Linked DNA regions of Homo sapiens: all the other regions are linked to region 1. Evidence: promoter capture Hi-C in 16 types of primary human blood cells and fetal thymus (Javierre and others, 2016). All regions are on one chromosome and are shown on one strand. Each heading gives the region's core, a stretch centred on a gene start or on the middle of the fragment in contact. The rest is flanking DNA. Distances are from core to core; before and after follow the strand shown. Region 1 holds the start of CNDP2 (carnosine dipeptidase 2). Region 2 has its middle 57 kb from the start of CYB5A. Region 3 has its middle 24 kb from the start of TIMM21. Region 4 overlaps FBXO15 (F-box protein 15).

Region 1 (4,467 bases), core at 67-2,566:
CAAGTAGCTGGGACTGCAGGTGCGCACCACCACACCCAGCTAATTTTTGTATTTTTTGTAGAGACGGGGTTTGCTCGTGTTACTCAGGCTGGTCTCGAACTCCTGGACTCAAGCGATCTGTCCGCCTTGGTCTCCCAAAGTGCCGAGGTTACACACATGAGCCACCATGCCTGGCAAGGGAGTAACATGATTTAAATGTTGAGACTAGTGGAGGGCAGGAGAAATTGCTGTGGCACCTGGAACCGTCAGTAGTACACACAAATGAGTCTTCTAGTTCTGAGAATCTCAGTCCCTGTCCCTTGATAATTGAAGGCATATATAACACAAATAACTGAATCACACCTTCATGTCTGATTAAGAACCAATAAAAGAATCTCCAATCTGCCCAAGCTAGAACTTGATCCCTAAGCATAATGTGGACTTCTCTTCCTCCACTCCTGCCTGCAAACATTAGGGACAAGGAAGGTATTGGTAGCAGGCCCCGGGTTCTCCGCCTCTTCCTGCAGTCTATGCTTGGATGATCTACGGAATCTGACCTTGGCAGGCGGTGGGGAGTTTGGTTTGGTGGCCCTGTCTGTGAGGACCAAATATTGTCTCTATTTCACAGATGAGGAAACTGAAGCCAATTGAATAAGACACCTGCCCCAGACCATCAAGCTGGCATGGGAATTTTGTCTCCCCTCAGACGCTTCCTCCTATAGCCTTAAACGCTGCCTCAAATGCTGGCGGGAGCTAGGGACGCTGTCCAGGGCCCTTTGAACCTGGGAGGCTTCTGTCCCGCCACACTCCCCACCCCAGGTCTCCGGGAAAGGGATCCGTTGGAGAAAGGCTGGAGTTCTCAGCAGGCCCCTGGGGAGGGGTGTGGCCTGACCAGCGCTCGGCTCCCCGCAACCCCATCTCCAACCCGGGTCGTTCCACTCGACTCCACCAGGGAGGGCCACGCAGGCTCAGGCCAAGTGCGCCGCCCAGCTTGTCCCTGCGTACCGGGGACGCGCTCGGCGCTGCTGGGACACGAGTGGCCCGGAGGTGCGAGAGGCCCCGGGGCCATGGCCGTCACGGGCCTCCGCCCCCGACCGCGCGCTCGGGAACAGCCCGGACACCATTGTTCCCGCCTGGCTGCGGCCGGGCGCCCCACGCTCCCCCACGAATGAGGCGTGACTCTCGCCGCTGACCCGGGTCCTCCCCGCCCAGCCCGTTCCCAGCTCAGGGCGCCCACCCGGGAAGGAAGGTCCATCAGGAAGACCCACCTGGGAAGGAAGGCCCACTAGGCAAGGCCCTGTTACCAGCAGCAAGCGCGGCGCCGGTTCCGTACCACGTGTCCCGGCCACGACCCCCGGCGCTGGCCCGCCCCGCGGTCGCCCTGGCCACCAACCCCGCCTTGTCCGGAGGGCAGGCATCGCCACGCCCCCGCCACGCCCACCAATCCAGCCACAGGCAGAGGGGTGGTGTCACTCTCTCCCCGCCCCATTTCCGCCCTGAGCCAGGTGCGGAAGGTGACGTCACCTCTCCCAGCTCCATTTCCGTCCCGCCCACCAATCCCGGCCTGGTCCACAAGGCTTTCGCCTCGTCGCCCCTCCCCGACGGTAGACGGGGATGTGGGCGTGGCGAGGGGGCGGAGATTTCGTGGGTTGGGATTCAGGGGAGGCAGGGCACACGGGAGCGCGTGTCCGGAGCTGTGGGCTTGTGCTGTGCTTCCCGGTTGCTCTTGGGTGGGCGGGGGGCCTGGTGCTTCAACGGTGGGGTCCGAGAAGTCGCCTGCAGTGCGGCAATGGAGTCCAAAACTAGGGGGCCCTGACTCCACCCTCTGATCTCCCAGGCTCCGGAGGTCCCACGACGCTCCCATTCCCTTGCGCATCCAGCACTGCACTTTCCGTTGCGTTTCAGTCCCGGCGGAGTCGGGGCACGGACTCCTGCGGGTCACACAAGCTCCAATGAGAGGTCGGTCTGAACTGGATTAGGAAAGCGTTCGCCAGCATCGTTACCAGTAGTGGAAATATTTTAGTATTTGTGTCCCATGACCCTAGGAACTGATGAAGGAAGCAGAGCCAGCACCGTGTTTGAGCGTCTGCGACAGCGCTTTCCTTTTTAATCTTAACAACAATTCTTGGGGGTAAAATTGTTATTCCCTAGTCTGCTCACTTTTCCAATAGAGTGTTCTCAAAAGACTTTCTTTAAACTTGTACCACTACCACATTCTTTAAGGAGTGATGGCTCGGGAGTTATTATTTTTTAAAAATGAATTTAATAGTTGTAAGAGATGTATACGTTCCCACATAAAGTAAAATGTTAAAATTGTCTCCTCCCTTAAAATTTACATGGTTTGTTTCCTCTTTTTATATTTATTTATTTATTTATTTATTTATTTATTTAGAGACAGAGTCTTGCTCTGTTGCCATGCTGGAATGCAGTAGCCCAGTCTCAGCTCACTGCAAGCTCCGCCTCCCAGGTTCAAGCCATTCTGCCTCAGCCTCCCGAGTAGCTGGGACTGCAGGTGCGCACCACCGCACCCAGCTAATTTTTGTATTTTTAGTAGAGACAGGGTTTCACCATATTGGTCAAGATGGTCTCGATTTCTTGACCTACTGATCCACCCGCCTCAGCCTCCTAAAGTGCTGGGATTACAGGCGTGAGCCACCCCGTCCCCCCCATCCCTGCCTCCTCTTTTATTTTTTATTTCTATTCCACATCCCTCATAGAATTTTGTTAAATGTAACATTTTTATACTTAATAGTCTTACTCATATCCTAATCATTTCTCTACAACAGACTATGATAAAAATTTAAATTAATATTTACTTTGCTATAACCAGATGAGATTAGGCATGTTCAGGGTGGTATGGCCATAGACACTTTGCTATAACCAAAAAGCTTTAAGTATTAACATTTTTTCTTCTGGATTAAATTCTCATAATAATTATTGTACATGAATGATAAAAAGAAAAAACTATATTACACATTTTGCAAACATTGCAAAAAGTAAACATTGGTGGAAGATACATCCTTTAATCATATCTACTGGGCTTTTAAATAAATTCGTTCAGGTATCCATAAATGAGATTATTGCTGAAAAGAGGGTTTGGTTAAAAAAAAAAACAAAACACACACACACACACACACACATATGTATATAGCAAAAAGAAGTGATTTAGAGTAGAAGCCATAACACACTACTGTTACCAAAATTTAATAGGCTCAAGGTAAGAATAAATAATGAGCAAAGAAGTAGTTGAGAACTTTAGAGCAATCAGATGCTTCAGTCCAAGTGAAAACATGAAAATGCATTTGCAGTACTCAGTGTTGAAGAAGTTGGTGAACATGTTTCTCCTATGAATCTGAATAAATGTTAAGAAAATACAAAACACAACATTTACCCTTAATATAGAACCCTGTTACCTGGAAATATGTTAATTGTCATTATTCCCCTGGGAACAATGTTAAGTCAGTACCTGATCAGTGTCCTTGATTAAGGAGTTGTCCTCCAGTGATACCATGTGGCATTTCAAATTGTCCCTTTGTCTGGAGCATGCCAGGCTTCAAGAGTTGATGACATACAGCATCAGGAACAATGCCTGGCACTGAGAAGGTGCCTCATGAGTGTTAATTACTCATCCTTGTGCAGGGACCAGGACTCCTAGGAACAGGAGACCCTGGCTGAGGTCAGCAGGTCAGTTGCACCGCCTACATGCTCTAGGAGAGAGCCTCTGGAAAATTTGAGAAGCTGGAGGTTGATGCCCTTTAGAACTCTCTGAGTCCCTAAGTTTCCTTGTGCCCTCAGTCATCTTTCTCAAGACCACTGCCTTACACAGCTGGTAATGCAAGTAGCTGGTATTGGAGCCTGTGTGCTCAGTTCTGATTTTCCAGCAGGTGGCCCTGCAAGTCCATTGCTTCTTAAAGTGTGCATTGCAGGTGGCTCAGTGGCAACAAACCTGAGCTTAAAGAGCTACATAAATGTGTTCCTATTCCTCTCTGATGATTTTGAGGACAACAGGGACATTATGAGAGAAAACAAAGAAGTATGAGGATGAGTGACCACAGGTTAAGTACTTCAGAAAGAGAAAGGCTGTGACTGTTCTCAGAACTTAGGGAATGCAAACATTGTAAAAGTCACTGTTGATAACAGACCCACTCAAAAAACAAAATTATTTCAAAATAAAAAATTAATTTAATATTATGTGATTATTCTAATAAAAATGCTATGGTACAAGAACAACAACAACAACAACAAAACATTAGATCATGCTTCCAATTGCCGAAATTTGTAGTTCTCAGCATGAGATGGAGTTTAGTCTTCAGAATCTGTCATGTCTGTTTAACCAAACTTTTGTTTTTATTTTTTTTTTTTGAGATGGAGTCTCTGTTGCCCAGGGCTGGAGTGCAGTGGCATGATCTCAGCTCACTGCAACTTCTGCTTCCCAAGTTCAAGTGATTCTCCTGCCTCAGCCTCCCGAGTAGCTGAGATTACGGGCGT
Region 2 (4,069 bases), core at 315-2,814, 260 kb after region 1:
GAAGGATATGGAATAGCACTGCGAGGCTGGCTGGCTCCGAGACCACTGTGTGGGCATGTGCTTGGCCTCTGAAGCTTGGGCACAAACACTCTTATCCAGTTTCCATTCAAAGACCAGCTCGAGGCCCTGCATGCCCGACCAGCAGGAGGTTAGGTCCTTTGGTCCCTGAAAGATTCCTCCTTGAGGAAATCTAGCCCTGGGGGGCTCACTAAGTTTAAATGCTTGTTCAGTTGACACCTGTCTCTGTACTTGGAGTGAGCAGTAGGCTTTTTTTTTTTTTAACAACTGAATATCCACTCTCCTTCCAGTAACAGCACCCAGATTTAACTCGGGAGATCTGCTTCCCTCGTTTTCAGCTATGGGACATAGGTGGGATTGACCCCTCACCTAACTCCAGGCTGAGTTAGGATTCACTTGAGCTTAAAGAACATCCCATCCCTGGCCTAGTGGGAAATGATTCCACTCTATCAGAACCAAGGAGGCAGAAGGAATTTCACCAGTGTTCCTTGGAACGTGGACCTGCTTCCCTGCTGTGTGTGTGTTCAGGAGAGACTGCTTTCCTCCCCTGGTGGTGGGATGTAAAGGCATGTGTCTGGAGCTGCCATGGCCATGTTGACGTCATGAGGTATCTTGGGTCCTTCTGGGGTGGGGACTCACAGAGATTGAGGCTGAGCCTGTCAACATGGAAGGTGGGTTAGAAAGACTGGGAAACTCTGAGTCCTTGGACATGCTGGCTGAGCTGCGGATCATGCCTCTCTCGAAGCCACACCTATTGTGGACTTCTAATAAGAAGGTTGGAAGCATATGATATTGCTGATAATTTGGCAAGTGCTGACCTACAAGAATGGAAATCTCTTTCAACTTAAATGTTGAAACTTATAAATTTCCTTGATTTTCTAAGACAATTTTAGGTGGGTGGGTTTTTCTACAACTCAAAGACTTCTAACAAATATAACACAGAACTTAGAATCCTGTCCCTGAGGAAGGAGTGTGTGTATCCCTATGTCCCGGGAACTGGTTGCTCCAGAACCTGTCTCTGCGCAGCTGCTGCCGCCCCTCACTCCTCCTGCTGCAAAGCTCAGGTGATGCACAGAGATGTAAAAGTTTGCTGCTGCCGAGACCACTGCTGGCTCCTATGGCCCTGCCCGAGGGGTCAGACCAACTGGCCTCAGGTTTCCAACAGAACTGGTCCTGACAGTCCCTGGGGATTCTGCCCCAGCCTGAATAAACTATAATTCTGAGCAAAATCCAGCTGAGTTCAGCAAATGGAAGTGGGTTAGCCCTCAGAGCCCCACTTCATGTGGGGTATGACAGCAGCCTCAGCTGTCAGCTGCATCCAAGGTGGACATTCTCTCACCTCAAACATCGGCATGGCCTAAAATTGATGCCTTCCCATACATTTGTTAGAGAATAGATTGAAGGGACTTCAAGTTGCAAAGAGATATTTGAATTTTTTAAAAACCTCAAGCCAGTATTTGGAAACCGCCAGCAAGGATTTGGACATGGTGAGGTAAGTCAGACCAGTGCCAATTTCATAGGCTGAAGGGAGGTTTTCTAGGTTAGAATGCACAAGATGTAAACAGTTGATTTTTCTGCTCATGTTGTTCAACAGGTTTCTTTTTCTGTAAAGCAACTACAGCCTGAACTTGAAGCCATATCTTTTTTTTTTTTTTTTTTTTTTTTTGAGATGGAGTCTCACTCTGTCGCTCAGACTGGAGTGCATTGGCACAATCTCAGCTCACTGCAACCTCTGCCTCCCCAGTCCAAGAGATTCTCCTACCTCAGCCTCCTGAGTAGCTGGGATTACGTAGCTGTGCCACGACACTGAGCTCAGTTTTGTATTTTTAGTCGAGACAGGGTTTCACCATGTTGGCCAGGCTGGTCTAGAACTCCTGACCTCAAGTGATCCATCTGCCTTGGCCTCCCTTGGCTTACAGGCATGAACCACTGCGCCCGGCCTTGAAGTCATAATTAAGTAGTATTAACACATCATGTCTCATCAGGTAATAGGCTTTTGCTTTTTTTTGGAGGAGTCATACCAGAGTTTGCATACAAACTCTTCCTGTGTGTAATGTATCTATTTATTCATTCATATTGACTGAGAGTCTCCGACGTGTCACTGCATAGCCAGTGTGACTTCCCCAGTCAGATGACTTCCCCTATGCTTGTGTCTTTACCTCCCTGTACCCCTCGCCAGCCCTTGCTGGAACAGGCACTAACCCCCAGGCAGAAGAAGGACTTGCTTCATAAGCCTTCAAAGAAGAAACTCTGGCTTTTCTCAGTCTGTCAAAAGTCAGTGGAGGCCTCCAAGCATTTCTCATTTTCCCAATCATCGAATAATAACTTCAACACAATGATATGACTCAACCCATTGCTGACGAATGCTCAGAGCCCAAGCCTTTCAAAGCAAAGGACCTTGCATAGTTCCCCTGTCAAGGCAGGAGATTGAGTTCAGCTCAGTTTATTGGTTAAACATTATCACCCTCTGTTCCTCCCACTGGTATGTCTGTTCCAAATGCTGACCCCAGAAAAAAGTTCACATGCTCTTTCCTGAGCCAAAACATATAAAGAACAGCCTCACTTGTTGATATGTACCCTGTTATGCAATCACTTTCCTTGCAAGGGCCGAAGTTCAAGGAGCTGTTAAAGTTGATGCCCTTTCTTTTTCTCAAGTGTGAAACATAAAGAATTGCACGGGATTTTACCGTGAGAGTCAGATGGTGAGAATTCCTTAGCATTTGCCTTTCTGAAGTGGAAATTGGGTTCCCCAGAATTGTGACTGTTTGATACTCAGGTGAAGAAATTATTTTTATTGTAACCTCTTCCCCTTGGAGATTAAGGGCTGGATGAACACTTTGTTTAGCATTGCTTTTGATTCTTGCGTGGGTGTGAAAGAAAGATGATCTGTTTAATGCCACGTGGCTCCCAGTGTGCCTGCCTCAAGAGCTGTCCTTAAGTATAGCCAAAGGATTATATAATAAGCAAGATTTATATAATAATTTTGTACATGTTGCCACCAGAATATCACTATGATTTCCTATGACATAAAGCTTTCATCTGTTGCTATCAGGAAAGAATCGACTAAGCTTTTTCTGTGGGGGAAATGTGCTAGAAAGCCCTTCTGGAAACCATTCCTCAAAATCATGCGAGCTGGAATGGCAACCTAGAACTAATGCTTTAACAACCACCAGTCATCAGTAAAATAAAACATACAATACTAAAATAGCTAATAAACGACAAAGGCTATATGCCAAATGGATTCAGTAAGATATTTGGGGAACTGATGTGAGACAGACCCATGTCATCGTCAACCTTCTCTGGAAAGTCCAGGAGCAGAGGACAAGAGAAGAAATCTTCTGATATCATATTCATTGATTTGGACACCATGGAGTTAAATGGCAATTATTGTAGTCTACTGTTTATATTGGGCCAGAATCGAGGGGTTATTTCTTACAGCAGAAGTGCAGCTGGGTGGCCTTTCCATTATATCTGTTTAAAACCCACTGAATGGGCATATTTGGGGTGCCAGGGAAATGACTAGAAAAAAATCAGGTTGTGATGAGCAGTCATGCGGTGGCGTTTCTGATAGACAATACTTTCCTCTTCCTCTTAAATACAAACTATAAGCATTGTGACGAGAAAGGACCCCCATTATGAATTTTATGTATTAAATACTAATAGTTTGTTACAGTTTATTACATGGTCAATGTTTAAATTAAAAGCTCTATTCAAATGAATGTATTAGTTTGTTAGGACTGCCGTAATAAGGTAGCACAAACTGGGTGGCTTAAACAACAGAGATTTATTTTCTCACAATTCTGGAGAGAGCTGGCTGGGATCAAGGTACAGTCGGGGTTGTTTCCTCCTGAGGGCAGTAAGGGAGTAGCGTCCCAGGCCTCACTCCCAGCGTCTGGGGGTTGCTGGTGATCTGTGGTGTTCTGTAGCTTGTAGCAGCACCCTGATCTCTGCCTTCGTCTACACAGGGTGTTCCTGTGTCCAAATGCCCCTTTTTAATTTTTATTTATTTATTTATTTTGAGATAGAGTTTCACTCTTGCCGCCCAGGCCAG
Region 3 (4,196 bases), core at 449-2,948, 320 kb after region 1:
GCTGAGATCGCGCCACTGAGCTCTAGCCTGGGCGACAGAGTGAGACTCGGTCTCAAAATAATAATAATAATAAAATAAATAAATAAATAAATAAATAATAAATCCAGTTTTTACTTGGCTGACAGAGTGATCTTGAACGCAAGTCAGTTTCTTAAAAACTTTCAATGGCGGCCGGGCGCGGTGGCTCACTCCTGTAATCCCAGCACTTTGGGAGGCTGAGGCGGGCAGATCACAAGGTCAGGAGATCGAGACCATCCTGGCTAACACGGTGAAACCCCGTCTCTACTAAGAATACAAAAATTAGCCGGGCGTGGTGGCGGGCGCCTGTAGTCCCAGCTACACGGGAGGCTGAGGCAGGAGAATGGCGGGAACCCGGGAGGCGGAGCCTGCAGTGAGCCGAGATCGCGCCACTGCACTCCAGCCTGGGCGACAGAGCGAGACTCCGTCTCAAAACAAAACAAAACAAAACAAATTTTCAATGGCTACCCATCACTCAGGGAAGGAAACCCAATCTCCTCAGCAAAGGATCAAGTATTTGTCACGCTCAGCGTTTCCTCACCACCCCCGCCCCGCACCCAAGGCTGTGGCACCCCGGTGGGAGCCCTCCATGAGGAAAAGGAGGCAGGAAGCCGGTGGAGTTACAGGCAGGGAGGCGAGGCTGGCAGTGTTACCTAGAGGAGCATCCTTGGGACCACAGAGCTGGCGGAGAAGAGAGATGAAAGCACCCTCCAGAGACTGGAGCCCAAGCCAGCTGCTGAGAGAAATAGCGCAGTGAGTGCAGCTGGGAGGACTGGGAGGACTGGGAGGACTGGGAGGACTGGGAGGACTGGGTGAGGAAGGGAGGAGGAACCGGGAGGGGGACAGGGCTGAGAGCGCCGAGCGGGAAGCGGACTTGGCCACGAGGTAAGGAGGGCTGGCATTGCCAGGCTTTCCCTTGAGCGGGTTCTGACCCTCTCCTCAGCATGCAGGACGTGGTGGCCAGGCGGGACCCTCCTCGTCCCATCCTCACTGCTTCCCTACAAGGTGCAGCGATGGCTTAGAGCCCCTTTCTGGGCCCCTGCGCAGAGAAACACCTGAAGCCTTCCCCGGTCCTGCCCTTAGAATGAATAGCTCCCTCTTCTCTGATCTCGGCACTCGCCTTGTTTTTGGCATGTTGTCCTGTTTTGTTGATATTTTTGTTTCCCCCATGGGAGCTCGCCACGGAGCCAGGTGAGACCGTTGGGATTTGCCCGGCGAGATCCTCCCCTCGTTGGCAGCATCTTCCTGCATGTGCAGCGTGCGCAGGCGCGGTGGGAAGAGCCACACTACGGAGTTAGCACTTTTCCTGAGGACTAGATTGCACCCTTTCCTTCACTGCAGTCTTCCTTAGAACTTTAAGGAATAGATTGCACCCTTTCCTTCACTGCAGTCTTCCTTAGAACTTTAAGGAATAGATTGCACCCTTTCCTTCACTGCAGTCTTCCTTAGAACTTTAAGGAATAGATTGCACCCTTTCCTTCACTGCAGTCTTCCTTAGAACTTTACATACAATTAATTATCAGAAAGAGTTACAAGATCAGCACTATCGTTTTCCCACTTACAGATAAGGAACTAGGCAATTTACGGAGAAGTAAAGTAAATGACCTGTCGCAGTGGTAGAATTGGGACTTGACACAGCTACAGCTGTCTGAATTCTGAGCCCAAATGCTCAATTGCGAAGCTGTATTGCTCAAGAGAAGAAAGATTGAGTCTCTGGACCTGTTCACTGCAAACAAGAAAGTGAAACTATGAGGAGCTGGTCTGAGAATGAGATGCGGTCCTGGTATTAATATTAGAAAGATCGGCGGGGTGGGGAGCTCTCTGTTGTGCTGAGCTGACCTGAGGAAAGGGCACCTTTCTCACTTTATGCTTCTCCCAATCCACAAGACTCCTCCTCACCTCTACTGATCCGGTGGCGCCTAAAATGTTCACTTTGCCTGATTTTAAACCAAGAAAAAGGAACATAAACACCTGTCGACATGGTTGTGTTTAGGACCTGTTTAAGGCACTAGTCTTTATTATAGTCTTTATTACAGTCTGAGAGAGTATGGAGATGAGGAAACAGAGGAGGAGGGGGGACAGCAGAGAGAGGAGGGAGGGACATCAGAGACAGAGAAGCAGGAGAAAAAGGGCACAAACGGCCAGGCATGGTGGCTTACGCCTGTAATCCCAGCACCTTGGGAGGCCGAGACAGATGGATCACCTGAGGTCAGGAGTTCAAGACCAGCCTGGCCAACATGCTGAAACCCCGTCTCTACTAAAAATACAAAAAAATTGCTGGGTGTGGTGGTGGGCACTTGTAATCAATCCCAGCTACTTGGGAGGCTGAGGCAGGAGAATTGCTTGAACTCGAGAGGCAGAGGTTGCAGTGAGCCGAGATCACGCCATTGCACTCCAGCCTGAGCAATAAGAGTGAGACTCCGTCTCAAAAAATAAAAAAAAAGAAAAGAGAAAGGGCACAAACAAGGGTTGTAACTTGGGGACACTGAGGCTTGATGGGCTTCCAATGAGAGTTAGCCGGAAGCTGCGTCATGCTGTTTCCTTGGGACATGAGCTTCTGTGTGGAGTCACCTGGATTTTGAAGGGTTTTGTGTCGTTTAACTGCTCATCAGAGCTCTCCACACACTGAAACCTCAATTCTCTTGTTGAGACACTAGAAGTCTGCGGGTGCCCCTCACACAGGAGAAATGCAAGCTGCCCCCTTGAAAAACGTCCTCAGAGTTGCAACCACAGGGGCCAAGTCAAGAACACTTCAAAGACTGGATGCAATCCAGCCAAGAGGTTGGCTCCTTCCCTCAGCCAGATCTCCCATGTGCTACCATAAGGAGAGCCTCGCAGAGCTGTGGCAGGTGGTATTGGCATGGATGAGAAACTTCTGCATGGGTCTTAGTGAATGCATTGGCATTCCTGGATGAAATACATTAAAAATGAAATAAATCCATATTAATAACAAATAATGATACAGTCACCTTTGATAGAGTAAAAATGAACACTTTTGTAATCCTTTGTTATGAAAAATAATGAGCCTATGAAGATTCAATTTCATTATTTGCAACTACTTGAAGCATATTTTTATCTCATTTCTTGTATCTATAGGCTAAATACAAATTGATATCAATGCTGATGATATTTAGCTTAATAAGTTTATATCTTTTATCTGAATTATTCCTAAATAAAATTGACAGCAGTATTCGCAGCTTGTAACACAGAGCAGCCAGTGGCTTCCAGGAAAAGTATAGGTAATTTTCATCATCTTGCCAGAGACAAGGGGTTCTGCTGGGTTCATCTAGAAATCAAGACATATTCCTTTAGAGGCTTCCCTATGGGCAGTAAGCCATTTGCCTCACTTGGCATTTATTTGTTGACAGCATTTACATGTCTTTGAAACAATGCTGACAACTTTGCTTAAATAAATGAACATTTCCATGTCCATTCTCAGGTGGCCAGAATAATCAGTGGATGTGAACAGTAAATTCTCATAAATGTGACTCGTGTTTGGATTAAGTATCGTCATTGACCAAATCATTTTGTCCTTCTCCCCATTTGTCGTGCCACCCTCACATGATGTTATAATACCCATCGAATAATCATGACTGTCAGCAATAAATGCAGCCACTGACGCCAGCTGCAAGGAATGAAGTCAAGATTGTCCATGCGACGAATCTGACCTTTTCAACTAAGCTTTAATTTTGGTACGCTTTTCCCCCCCTTTTTATAAATTACTCAGATCTCAAGGTAATAAGCATGTAAAGGAAAACCTGTTAAACATCTTATGCTGTACTCGCCATTCCTTTAACTATTTTTAAACGAATTCCTTGTTCAGCACAAATTCAAGAAAAAGCAGAGAGTGTAGAAAAAGAGGACAGAGAGGGACATTTTATAATTTTTAGGAGATGTCTGTATTATGATTATAAACCAGAAAAGCACAGACTAATGTTTTTCTAGGTTGGATGAGAAATCTAGAAATAGGATATTGGTGGTAAAAGGGGAAGAGTGCCTTAGGAAGAGTCTTGGGCGTAATTTGGGGAGTACCTTTCTTCCAAGCTACACACAGCCAACTGTTGGTAGCATCATATTCCACACAGTGAGAAGCAAGGTGGGGCCAAGATGCCACTCTGGAAGGTCAACAGATAAGTGCAGAATATCTCATGCAAATGATTGAAAGCAAATGGTGACTC
Region 4 (4,391 bases), core at 1,750-4,249, 410 kb after region 1:
TGCTTACCAGTACAGTGTCACTGGAAACCAAGGATGGTGAGCCTCAAATTGTATTTTGCTGAATTTTGCAGATGGTCTTGTGTATTGGTAAGTTAAGATTAGAGTCTCCAAGAACAGAGTTTATTCTGAATGACTTAAGGAGCACGGGAATTTAATGAAGGCTATACTTGCTCATAGTCTCTCTAGGAGAGCCACACTCTGTGTTTATAGATGCAAAGCCATGCTCTGTGGCTTCTCTTGTGAAACTATCAGCAGTATAGTAACCATTAGCAGCCTCAGAACCTCTGCTCCTGCCCGCCTGAGGCGCAGGCCCCTGCCACTGCCTCTGCCAGCAGATGGCTCTTCCCGTTCTCTTCCTCCTCTCATGCTCATTTCCGACTCCAGGTTTACAGGAACACATGTGTCTCACTGAAGGAGCCTGCATCACCAGTGACCGGCTTATAAGGAGGGCTGGGAGCAGAGGCTGTGGGACTCATAGGCTGAGCCATTACTTCAAGTATTGGGAAGCCATAGTGATTCCCCAGTGTATCCTGCTTGCTAATTTATAAATAGGCTTTTCTCTTGGGAGTAGTATGAAAACAAACATGAGAATCTGAATCTGCATTATAAATTATTGGCTAGTAATTAATTAGTGCTATGTTTTGCATATTTCTTACTCTATTGTAACATAGACTCTGGACACAGAACAGGGTTTGGATCATGTTTCTGCCGTTGACCAGGGATCTGACCTTGGGCGAGTTACTGTTAACCTCTCTGCATCAGTTTTATCACCTATGAATTCAGAAAATTATATTACCCAGTTAATATTATTATTAAGGTGTTAAAGTATTCTTCTAAGCTGTTAAGTGTCTAACTCAGTGGTTGGTATACAATAAGTACTCAAAAATACACCTATTTTATATACACACACTTTCACACATCTGTTCCATGTGCAGACTGTTTAAATGTAGGAAGAGCTTAACCTTTCTCTGTCTTATAAGTGGTTACAGAGGGTTGGCGGAAAGAGCTCTGACCTTTGGAGACACCACAGTGTTATAATTGTTCTGAAGTGGGAGAATACCTGGTAATAACAAAATAACAGTCTCTGCTTCCTACAGGGATTTGAGGTTTATTAGCTCAGGCAGTTGCCACTGAGACGTTATTGGCTGCTGTATTTGGAGTGCATTTTCTGCCGTGTCCTGGGGACAAGCTGTGTGGAAGATGAGCTCCTGGTTTTCTGTAGGCGCCGTCGGCTGCCTGCCTTTGCCGCACCAGTCAGAGGCCTCCCTTGGTTTTGCACGTGGCTGCAGTAGTGCAGGGCAGAGCAGAGTCACATCTGGTCCATTCAGAATGTCATTACTGTGCCTCCACTGAGGCCTCGCTTTTCATACACTTCCTCCCTGCTTCCGTCGAGCCCTGCTGAGGTGACGAGGTGATGAGGTGACAGCAGAGCTGTTGCCTGGGAAGGGTCCGTGTCATTTGGCATTTCTTCCTATGCCTGGGGAGAGTGGAAGGGAAGCTACACAGCTCTTGCTAATTACTCAGCATTAGAGAGGAAAATGTGGGCTGCCTCTGTCCTTGGAACAGAAGTAAGACGTGGAGAAACCAGCAGTGTGGCATCTGGGCAAGGAGCTCCCGTTTGCGGGGCTGGAAACCCTGCCTCTGCGTCCTCTTTCACTTAAAGCATATTACTGGGTCACAAAAGAGGCCCCAGGCAAAGTGTGGGCTTTAACCTTCTGGTGACACTGAAGTTGGAGAACACTGTATAACATTTCTAGAGCAGAGCTTTGGCTCCCAAGGCAGCTTGGCTTTGGTTTTATTTTGTCTCATGAAATAACCAGGCCAGGGCTGGAGAACATTTGCTCTTTTCCATGATTTTTCTGTTTGCTTTGCCCTGTGACTTGCATCTTCCCTTTGTTCAGACTTCCATCTCTGGAGAATTCTCGGGTATGAGTTGTGTTGCTGTCGGTTGGTTTGTGTGAGAAGCAACTGATGGTCGCTTCTCAGGGTGCGTTCAGACAGAACCAGGAAGCTTGTGTCTGTGTGAGACCGAGTGGTGCTGCGGCTCTCCCTGCCACAAGAGGCCTGTGGCAGCAGGGCTAGTGTGCTGTGTGGGTGCGAGGGCTCCTCCGTGTGGCCAGGCTGCCAGTAGCTGGCTTGGAGCTGGCAGCAGAGGGCCAGGGTTTGGCCTCCAGCTAGGTGGGCATGTGCACGGACTCTCACTCAGTTACAAGCATGTGCAGAGGTGTTGGTTTATTTCATGTGAGTTTCTTCCACTCCTCTTCATGTTCGCCTGCTCTCCAGCCCCTTGTTTCTTTGCCATTTCTGCACCTGCTTTCTTCAGCTGTGTAATTCTAGATATCGGTTTCCAACACTGTTGGCTTACCCACATCAGAAGAACCCTTTCCTCCTTCAGCGACCACCTTTCCATCAGTGACAGGTGGCTATCCAGGCTCGCCTCAGCCAGCTTCCCCTGACTCACCTTTGACATCACCTTTCTGGGCACTTGTTAATGTTTCTGCCTCTGGGACACAGATGCATCACTCTGGCCTCAAGCCAGAGGCTGGGATTGCTGTGCCCATGTTGCCCTCATCGCTGAGGCCAGGGCTTACCAGGGTGAGGTATCCTTATAAAGTCGCCGACTGAACGTGCTTGGTTTGTCATCTTGCACTGGAAGACAGTGATTGAAACAATCTTATATCTTTTCAGGAAATATTGAAAATGGACATGTGAAGCTCATTGTTATACATTTAAAAAATAACAGAGAACACCTACCTCTTATTGGAAAAGTTGGCCTCTCGTGGAAAACTGATATTTTTGATGGCTGTATAAAGGTAAAAACAGAACCGTTTTCTTTTCTTCAAGTAACTTGATTTCTATATAATAAAAAGTCTGTTTATATATATAAATTATATTGTCATATATGTATGATGTTTCTTTTATAGTTCTGGATTTATTGTTCTGGTTTCTGAAGGTTGGTGCACATTCTGTTAGCCATTGACAGCCAGTGGATTCACTCATGAGATGCTTATTGAGTACCTTTCATTTGTCACTGAGTATGGTGGAGTTGGAGGGGCAGGTAGTCTGCAGCAGCATTTCAGAACACTGTTGATCACAGTCCCCTACTCTCTCAAAGCCCCTCTGTTTTGTGGAAAGAGAGTGGAACTGAAGGTTGGACCACGCAGGCAGCATCTACTCAAAACATCTTGATCATCCATGTACCAATTTAAAACTTATTGCAGTTATAAATTCTTAGTCCAGGATATAGGGATTTCCTTGAACTGTTAAATAAAGATTAGCCACATGGGTGGGAGAGTTGACTTAGTGGTTGGGAAGTAGCAGGGAAGGAGGGAGGAGGAGGAAGAGGAGAAAGATGTTCTCACAGTTTTGCTTTCTTCTGTCCTTGTGCCCATGGCTGCTCCTGGTTCTTGTCACTCTCCAACTTTATTTTATGGGATGAACAAGATTTTCATTGTCCCAGGGACCAGTGGGATCAATCTCCTGTGACTGCGGGGGCCTCCTGTAACATGGCTTTATACGGCGCTATGCATGCGCACCTTGTTAGAACTATTAATGATGACGACTGGGACCAAGAGTGGTGTTATCATGAAGCACTGTCCCTTGAGCCACTTGATATTTGATGCAATGAGATATTTTACAAATCCTATTTATTCATAGCAAATGTTTAAGTTTTGGTAAAAATGATGTTTATCACACACCATGTTGTTTCATGCCTTTAAGAGCACAGACCTACCTTCTTTCTTTTTCTTCAGATTTCAATAAAGCCTATAATAAAAGTAGGTACTAAGATAAAATATTCACGTCAAAATAGACCTTGAGGATCAAGAAAGGCAGAATGTGAATGTGACTGTCTTTTAAAGGGTCAGCATAATTTTTAAAAATAATTTGTTCTGTGTTTTCTGGTAGTCCAGAGAAAGATGAGAGCAGTCATTTAGTTCTCATTGGGAGAAAAAAGGGAAATGTAGTAATTATACAAAGAAAGCTTTATCCCAGTTCTGATCATTAAAAACAAAATTTCCAATGGGACTTTATGTAGGGCAGACTAAGCTACATAATGGACCCACCCTGAATAGCATCTTAGCAGCAGATGCACTCACAGATTTCTCATAGAAGTTCTCAGAGAAGCTGAAGATACGGCTTCAAAATTGGACCTTTACATGAGCTCCAAGCAGTGATTCTGTAGGTTGCTAAACCAATGTGACTGAGGTGCACAGGTGTTTAGAAAAACAGCTTGATCTGAAAGCAGGATTTTGAGTTTTTAAAGTAGAGAATGGATTGCATGTCCCTGGACAGTTTTCCCCATAAATTCCTTCTCTCAGATGGGCTTTGGGAAAAGATAGCAGATAGCTCAAAAGCTTGTACCTTCTCCCTTGGGCCTGGAGGGTAGATGT

Evidence for each region. The method cuts DNA at HindIII sites, captures the fragments that hold promoters and counts their contacts. A CHiCAGO score of 5 or more calls a contact.
Region 2: a fragment that was not itself captured here is called in contact with the fragment with the promoter of CNDP2 in region 1 in 3 of 17 cell types (M2 macrophages, M1 macrophages and M0 macrophages); the score reaches 6.2 in M2 macrophages.
Region 3: a fragment that was not itself captured here is called in contact with the fragment with the promoter of CNDP2 in region 1 in 2 of 17 cell types (naive CD8 T cells and activated CD4 T cells); the score reaches 5.8 in naive CD8 T cells.
Region 4: a contact is called between a fragment that was not itself captured here and the fragment with the promoter of CNDP2 in region 1, in 4 of 17 cell types (naive CD4 T cells, total CD4 T cells, non-activated CD4 T cells and 1 more). The highest score is 9.0, in naive CD4 T cells.

The regions. Positions count from the first base shown.
Region 1 is chr18:74,493,212-74,497,678 of GRCh38, reverse strand. CNDP2 (carnosine dipeptidase 2) reads right to left here and starts at 1,316. Exons shown (of 12, transcript NM_018235.3): 1 at 1,248-1,316. RefSeq lists enhancers at 208-307, 691-1,203, 1,761-2,030 and silencers at 801-850, 981-1,490, 3,902-3,951. The HindIII fragment of the contact is 6,969 bases long and covers 1-2,869 here.
Region 2 is chr18:74,232,964-74,237,032 of GRCh38, reverse strand. No RefSeq gene overlaps it. Among named protein-coding and RNA genes, the nearest start is that of CYB5A, 57 kb to the left of the region's middle. The HindIII fragment of the contact is 2,976 bases long and covers 77-3,052 here.
Region 3 is chr18:74,169,978-74,174,173 of GRCh38, reverse strand. No RefSeq gene overlaps it. Among named protein-coding and RNA genes, the nearest start is that of TIMM21, 24 kb to the right of the region's middle. The HindIII fragment of the contact is 4,007 bases long and covers 1-3,701 here.
Region 4 is chr18:74,080,349-74,084,739 of GRCh38, reverse strand. FBXO15 (F-box protein 15) reads left to right here. Exons shown (of 10, transcript NM_001142958.2): 9 at 2,689-2,813. Among named protein-coding and RNA genes, the nearest start is that of FBXO15, 65 kb to the left of the region's middle. The HindIII fragment of the contact is 1,971 bases long and covers 2,014-3,984 here.